2 separate regions of the Homo sapiens genome follow, and region 2 is linked to region 1. The links are contacts of gene promoters, found by promoter capture Hi-C in human tissues and cell types (Jung and others, 2019). All regions are on one chromosome and are shown on one strand. Each heading gives the region's core, a stretch centred on a gene start or on the middle of the fragment in contact. The rest is flanking DNA. Distances are from core to core; before and after follow the strand shown.

What was found. Contacts are between HindIII fragments. The study calls those that stand out against the background at their distance.
Region 2: a fragment that was not itself captured here is called in contact with the fragment with the promoter of MYO18B in region 1 in 4 of the 25 tissues and cell types used here (aorta, mesendoderm cells, spleen and 1 more).

The regions. Positions count from the first base shown.
Region 1 is chr22:25,740,096-25,743,745 of GRCh38, reverse strand. MYO18B (myosin XVIIIB) reads right to left here and starts at 1,558. Exons shown (of 44, transcript NM_032608.7): 1 at 1,453-1,558. The HindIII fragment of the contact is 19,978 bases long and covers 1-3,650 here.
Region 2 is chr22:25,639,758-25,643,442 of GRCh38, reverse strand. All of the region lies in intron 2 of GRK3 (G protein-coupled receptor kinase 3), which reads right to left. Among named protein-coding and RNA genes, the nearest start is that of GRK3-AS1, 76 kb to the right of the region's middle. The HindIII fragment of the contact is 4,965 bases long and covers 1-3,685 here.

The DNA.
Region 1 (3,650 bases), core at 309-2,808:
ACAGAGCCCACACCAGGATATTCAAGGTGACCAGGCCTGGAGGCAGGTGACATCAAATATTTGTTGATTGGTAACATGCAGCCCTTCAAAAGCCAGGAGACCAGGAGACTCCCTCTCCTCCTCCTCTTCCTCCTTCTCCTCCCTCCTCCACCCACTTGGCCTTTTCTTTTGGCCTTTTCCTTTGCTATTATTCTTCTCCTCCTTCTTCTCTTTCTCCTCCTGCTTTTTTCCTCCTCCTCCTTCTCTTCTTCTCCTTCTCCTCCTCCTCTTCCTTCTTTTCTCTCTCTCCTCTCCACTATTATTTTCTAGAACTCATCCATAGCCTAAGAGTATATAGACCCCTCTCTTTTCTGCTCCCAAGGTACACACTGGACATGGTACCCAGGCATAGGAGAATACAACTTAGGTCAGCAATGGATACAGCACCCAAGGCCACCATTATCCTTGTTGGAGTCTAGAAGCCCTAGTGGGACACTCAGCCTCCATGAGCTGGTGCACTGAATGAGGCAGCATCTTTTTGGACAGCCACAAAGTGAAAGTAACAGCCTCGTCGTATTCCAGGCCCTACAGGATAGAAGCCCAGATCCCCACACTTGCGGGTTGAGGCCAGACTGGACAGCTTGGAGCCGACTGGGAGCCGACTGGGCTCCCCATTCCGGGCCTCCCCACTCCTGGCCTCCTCCATGGAAAAGCTGCAGGAAGGCAGCAGCCCAGAGGCCTGTAGCTGGTGAGGTCTTCTCCTCTCCTGGGAGAGAGCTCCATGTCAAAGCATAGCCCCCTTCTGCCCCACTATGGGGCCACTGGGACCTGTGAATCTTCTTCATTCAGAGAAATGCCTGCTATCCGGGGTGCCAGATAAGACACCTTCCCTCAGACAGAGCTCAAGGAAGGTGGCATGAAATTGAAACCTTCAGCCATGAACTTCCATTGCCCTTCCCCCAACACTCATACATGCTTAATTTGCAGTTTAAAAAAGAACATTAAAATTAACATTTCGACTCAACAGCGTTGTTAACACGAAAGGGGAAGCCTGGCTCTTCCCCGACCATAACTGAACACCAGTGAAGCAGAAATTACTGGTAGTTGAGGAAAAATATAAACCCTGACGTCTGCGGGCAAAGATTCACAGTGGAGATTAACTCATGATTCTAAACACATTTTTAAAAATTATTAGCGAACAGCTGGGGCCTGAGGAGAGTGATTCTTACGAATGTCCATTTGCCCCAGCATTTTGTTCTCAAATCCTTCCACCGAAACACTCTTGTTTTCAAAGTGAGCAGCACGGGCAACAGGCAAAGGAATCAGGCCTCGGAAGCTCTCAACACCAGAAAGGCCTAAAATAGACCAAAAGACCGGAGGCCTGCCACCGCAGCCCCCAGCAGCGCATTCCGGAAAATTAAAACTCGCCGATCCGCTCGCAAGGTGCCCGTCTAAAACCCAGCCCAATAGTACCTTCTGCAAAGAGGACACAGATCACAGGAACCACGACTGTCTAAGACGTCTCCCCGGGTGGCCGCGAAGGGACCCCACCGAGCCGGGAAAGCAGGAGCGAAGGAGCACCCTCTCCACACACACCGACACACATCCCTTCCCCTTACTGCCCCTCCCCGACCCGTCCTCCCCCCACCCTCCTTCTGGGCCAATGTGATAGCAGCAGCTGAGTCGACCAGTCATTTCTAAAATTAGCTTGTGAGCTCCAGGTCTGGCCAGGAGACGGCAGCCCGGGGTGGCCGTTGACCAGGCAGCAGAGACCATGGACATATTTGGTGGCCCCTGAGCAGGGAAGGGGACAGCTCTGGACACAAGCACATGCTCTCTCGTCATCCCTGTCCCAGGGCAGGGCCACACACCCACACTCCCGCCTCTGCCCACACAGATAACCAGAGGTTGCAGGAACTGTTTGAGGAGGAGAGCTGGCCGGTTCTACATTCCAGGCAGACTCTGGAAGAAAATAACTTGAATGAATGCTGGTGCGTCGTGGTAAACAACCAGTGCATGTAAACATACCTTATGCTTAGGTAGTGGTTATCGCATGCCACACACCGAGGGCTTTCATGAACTCACTTAATGTTCCCTATGAGGTAGGGTTTTTCCCCAGCCCCACTTTACAAGTGGGGAAATTGAGACACAAAAAGTTAACCAACTTGCCCAAGGCCATGGAGAGCCAGAATTCAAACCCAGGCTGTGCGGGCCGTAGAGGAAACAGACACAACAGCAAACTAGGGGCTATAAAAAAGTGCTTTGGGCCTGGCACGGTGGCTCACGTCTGTAATCCCGGCACTTTGGGAAGCCGAGGTGGGCATATCACGAGGTCAGGAGATTGAGACCATCCTGGCTAACACAGTGAAACCCCGTCTCTACTAAAAATACAAAAACAAAATTAGCCGGGCGTGGTGGTGGGCGCCTGTAGTCCCAGCTACAGGCGGAGCTTGCAGTAAGCCGAGATCGCGCCACTGCACTCCAGCCTGGGTGACAGAGAGAGACTCCATCTCAAAAAAAAAAAAAAAAATCAGCTGGGTGGGGTAGTGGTTGTCTGTGATCCCAGCTACTTGGGAGGCTGAGGCAGGAGAATTGCTTGAACCCAGGAGGCGGAGGTTGCAATGAGCTAAGGTCACGCCACTGCACTCTAGCCTAGGCGATAAGAGACTCTATCTCAAAAAAACAACAACAAAAAAAGTGCTTTGTCCACTGCCTAAAAGGAGCAAAGTACAGACTTCAATAAATTGGATAAACCATGCAGGTCCATGCAGCTAGCAAAGGGTAGAGTCATGACTCAAATCCAAGTCTTTCTGGTTCCAAAGACCGCAATCAGCCCAGCATGATACTGCTCCTGTGAGAATTGTTTCAATAATTGCTATGTGGTGCTGCTCCTCTTTCCCCAGAGCTCATCGAGCAATATTTTCCCAAAGTACTCACTTCTGCCGAGGTCTTGAAAATTAGCATTCAATCAGAAGTTCATTGAAACACTAAGGGAAGGCTGCTTAGAAAATGGCAGTCTAGGCCGGGTATGGTGGCTCACACCTGTAATCCCAGCACTTTGGGAGGCTAAGGCGGGTGGATCATTTGAGGTCAGGAGTTTGAGACCAGCCTAGCCAACATGGTGAAACCCCACCTCTACTAAAAATACGAAAATTAGCTGGGCGTGGTGGCGGGCACCTGTAATCCCAGCAACTCGGGAGGCTGAGGCAGGAGAATAGCTGGAACCCAGGAGTCAGAGGTTGCAGTGAGCAGAGATGGCGCCATTGCACTCCAGCCTGGGCGACAAGAGCAAAACTACATTTTGAAAAAAAAAAGAAAAGAAAAGAAAGAAAAAGAAAATACAATATACATAATATACATGAGGTTGAGGAGGGGTCCCTGCGGCCCCCAGTGGAGAGTGGCATGGGACATTTAGGCCACACCAGGGGAAGAGTTTGGAGACAGGTCCCGGTGAGCTGTTTTCTCCAGGTTGTGCTAGATCATTTGACATTGAAACAAGAACCTCCCTTCTCCCGCCCCTTGCATCACAAGTCCTGAACCATTGGCTCCTGGGCTTTTCTGTCCTTGCTGTCTTTCCGACGCTGTTGGTCTGAAGTGGTAGAGTTGACATGCAGAAATGATTCTCTGGGCCCAGGGCTGGGACTCTCTATAGGCCATGACCTGCAGTGATG
Region 2 (3,685 bases), core at 516-3,015, 100 kb after region 1:
GGATCTTGTAACTTGAACTGGTCTGTAACTGATCCATAAATTCCCCTCATAGTTCCCGGAACGTGGCCTTTGAAAATGGTAAGTGTTCGTTCACTCAAACTAGAGTAGAATGACTAAGAGTACTAGTTAAATAGGCATAGCCAGACTTTACCAGGGTCAGGCGCACACCTGCAGCAGGAGCACAGCCACGCTCCTCCCATGGAGAAACTGCAACGACCCCAACATAGGCAGGAAGTAGGAAATTCAAGAAGCAGGCAAATGGGAAGGATACACATCTCTATCTGTTCGTATGTTAGTATTCTGATTTTAAGAGTAATCGTTGTCTCTTCATTTTTATTCATTTCAAAGGACTTTCTAATTTCCCTTGTCATTTCTTCTTTGATCCGTGAGTCCTTCAGAAGGGTGTAGTTTAATTTCAAAATATTTGGGGATTTTTCAGACACTGATTTTCTGTTTAGCTCTGTTGTGGTCAGAGAACATGCTTGGTATGATTTCAATGCTTTTAAATGCATTGAAACTTTTGGTCTATCTAACGGAATGCTGTATGGCACTTGAAGAAAGGGTGCATTCTGTTCTTATAGGGTGGAGTGTTTCATTTAAAAGAATACAAAGGCAATTAAACCAAGTGGGCTTGATAGAGTTCTTCAAGATGGTCCTCTGCAGCAACACAGATGGAACTGAAGGCCATTATCCTAAGTGAAGTCAGTCAGAAACAGAGACTCAAATACTGCACATTCTCATTTACAAGTGGGAGCTAAACAATGGGTACACATGGACATAGGGAGTAAAATAATAGACACTGGAAACTCCAAAAGGCAGGAGGATGGGAGAGGAGTAAGCCATGAAAAATCACAGATTGAGTACAATGTACACTAAAAGCCCAGAGTTCACCACTATGCAATGTATCTAGGTAACAAAATTGCACTTGTACCCCCTAAATCCATAGAAATAAAAGATCATCCTCTGAATCTTTACAGAATGTCTGTCTGTTTATTTATTTATTTATTTTTGAGATGGAGTCTTGCTCTGTCGCCCAGGCTGGAGTGCAATGGCGCGATCTTGGCTCACTGCAACCTCTGCCTCCCAGGTTCAAGCAATTCTCCTGCCTCAGCCTCCCGAGTAGCTAGGATTACAGGCACCCGCGATCATGGCCGGCTAATTTTTGCATTTTTAGTAGATACGGGGTTTCACCATGTTGGCCAGACTGGTCTCGATCTCCTGACCTCAGGTGATCCACCCGCCTTGCCCTCCCAAAGTGCTGGGATTACAGGCGTGAGCCACCGCGCGGCCATCTGTCTATTTATTCTATCCATCATCAACAGTGAAGTGTTGAACTCTCCATTTGTAATTGTAGATTTGTTCATCTTTTTTCAATGTTGTCAGTTTTTGCCACATGTATTTCTTTTTCTATTTCTGGAAGACAAAACTAACATGAGAATTTGAACTTAAGTATTTTGATCAAATTAGAGATGTTTTCAAAATGTCTAAATGACAAAATGAAATAATACCACACATGGACCACTGTCTTTTGACTACACTTGGAATCAAACTGAAACTCTTCACCATAGCCTACCCACGTCCTCTGGAGTCACCATTTCCTTCTCTGGCCTCATCTCACAGTGCTCCCCCCAAGCTCACTTCACTTAGGCCAAGCTTCTGTACTGTAGTTTCTCTGACACCAAGCTCATTCCCTTCTCAGGGTTTCTTACCGGCTATTCCCACTGCCTCACACACTTTTCCTGGATCTTCTAAATGAACAGCTCACTAGCTCACTTCACATATCCCTTTCCTTGAGGAGGCCTTTCATGATTCTCATTCATTCTCACTGTCCTGCTGTCTCTATCTCGCATCCATTCACACACACACACCACAAAACACTTTGTAGCACTTACGATGAGCAAAAATTGTCGCATGTTTATATTTGCTTCTTTACTGTCTACCTCTCCCACTACAATGTAAGCTGCAATGCATAGGGTACAGGTGTTTTATTCTCTACTACATTTGCACAAGAGCATTGACTGTAACAAAGACAGAGCTCAGGAGAGAGAACAAAGGAAGAAAGGTAGAAGAAAGAGCAAAGGTACAAGGAGAGGGAGGGAAGTCGGGGGAAAGGAGGAAGGAAGAGGACAGAAAGAGGAGGGATGAGGGAAAGAGGGAGTTGAATGAATGAACACCCAACTTAGAATGTGTTTACCTATTTATTTAAGGAAATCTCCATTGTCGGTCAGTAGAATAAGCCAAGGACTTAGTTCAACACACAATAGAAAACACAAAATATTATTTTCCTCCTATGTGCACATAAACTGAAGCTTTACTTTCTACCAGCTGTTTAAATGGAGCTGCTAAAATTGAGCAGCAGGAAGAAAGATATTTGCCTTTTGGCTAAATCCTAGATCACTGTGTCCTAGGCTGAACGCAACTTACCTTCATCAGCCTTAAATTATATAAAAAGCAAATGAAGCATGGCCTAGATTAGGGCAAAATATGAGAGGCAAAAATAAGGAAATATTTTGCCTAACAAGTTCACTTCATCGCTGCAATTTCTCCAGATCTTAAAGAGTAAAAAATGGTGACCTAACACCTGCTTAGTAGATATTTGTGAAATGTGTTTACTTTGTTGCTATATTTGAACCACTGCAAAATGCTGAATATTGATTAACTTTTTAGTGTATGTAACACCCGCCATCACGATAATTTTTCAAAAATTAGTAGAAAGAATTGTATTGCTTTTTATAAAATGTAAGTTAAGAACTTTTGAAAGTATTAAATATAAGTGGTTTCTATGAGAAAATTTGAAATTAAATCTCCTAAAAATTAGAAAGGTGAAAAGAGAAATATGAAAATTTTCTTGCAAGAAAAAATACTTGTCCTCAGTTTTGCCAAGGAGATTAAGACAGTAAGGAGAATAGACTGCATAACTGCTAAAACTTCCTCCCAATATTGACTAATTCTACAAAACATTTACTGAGTATCTACTAAGAGCCACTGTGTTATTCACTGAGGATGTGATTGTGAAAACAGTGTTTTTCCAATAAAGCGCTTACGGATTAGTGTAAGAGACAGACAACAAAGAAATACATATAATTTATGACAAGGAATATAAAGTAATTAAGTATGATGCTGAGATAATGATAAAAAGAGGAAGATGTATTTCAGACAGAATGGTCAGTAAGGCCTTTCTGAGCTGTGAGACAAACAAAATACAATGCATGTCAGATAAGAAAATGCTGCAATATGTAATCTCACTCCTCTTCAACATTGTATTGGAGGTCCTAGCCAATGCAATAAAGTAAGAAAATGAAATAACAGTTATTCAAATTGAAAAGGAAGAACTAAAACTGATTCTATTCAATCTGGTTACCTACCTGGCAAATCCTATCTATAAGTAACTACTAGAATATGTAAGTAAATTTAGCAAGGCCACAGGACATAAGGTCATTAGATAAAAACCAATGAAATTTCTATAAACTCATAGCACACAATTTTAAAATGGAATTTTAAAAACAAGTCAATTTGTAATAACAAAGAACTATCAATACATAGGAATAAACAAATAAATGACATACAAGAACAGTATGCTAAAAACTATAAAATGTTACTGAGAGAAATTAAAGAAGATCTAAATAAATGGAAATACATACTCAGTTCATGGACTGGAAGATTTAGTATTGCTTAGATGTTAATT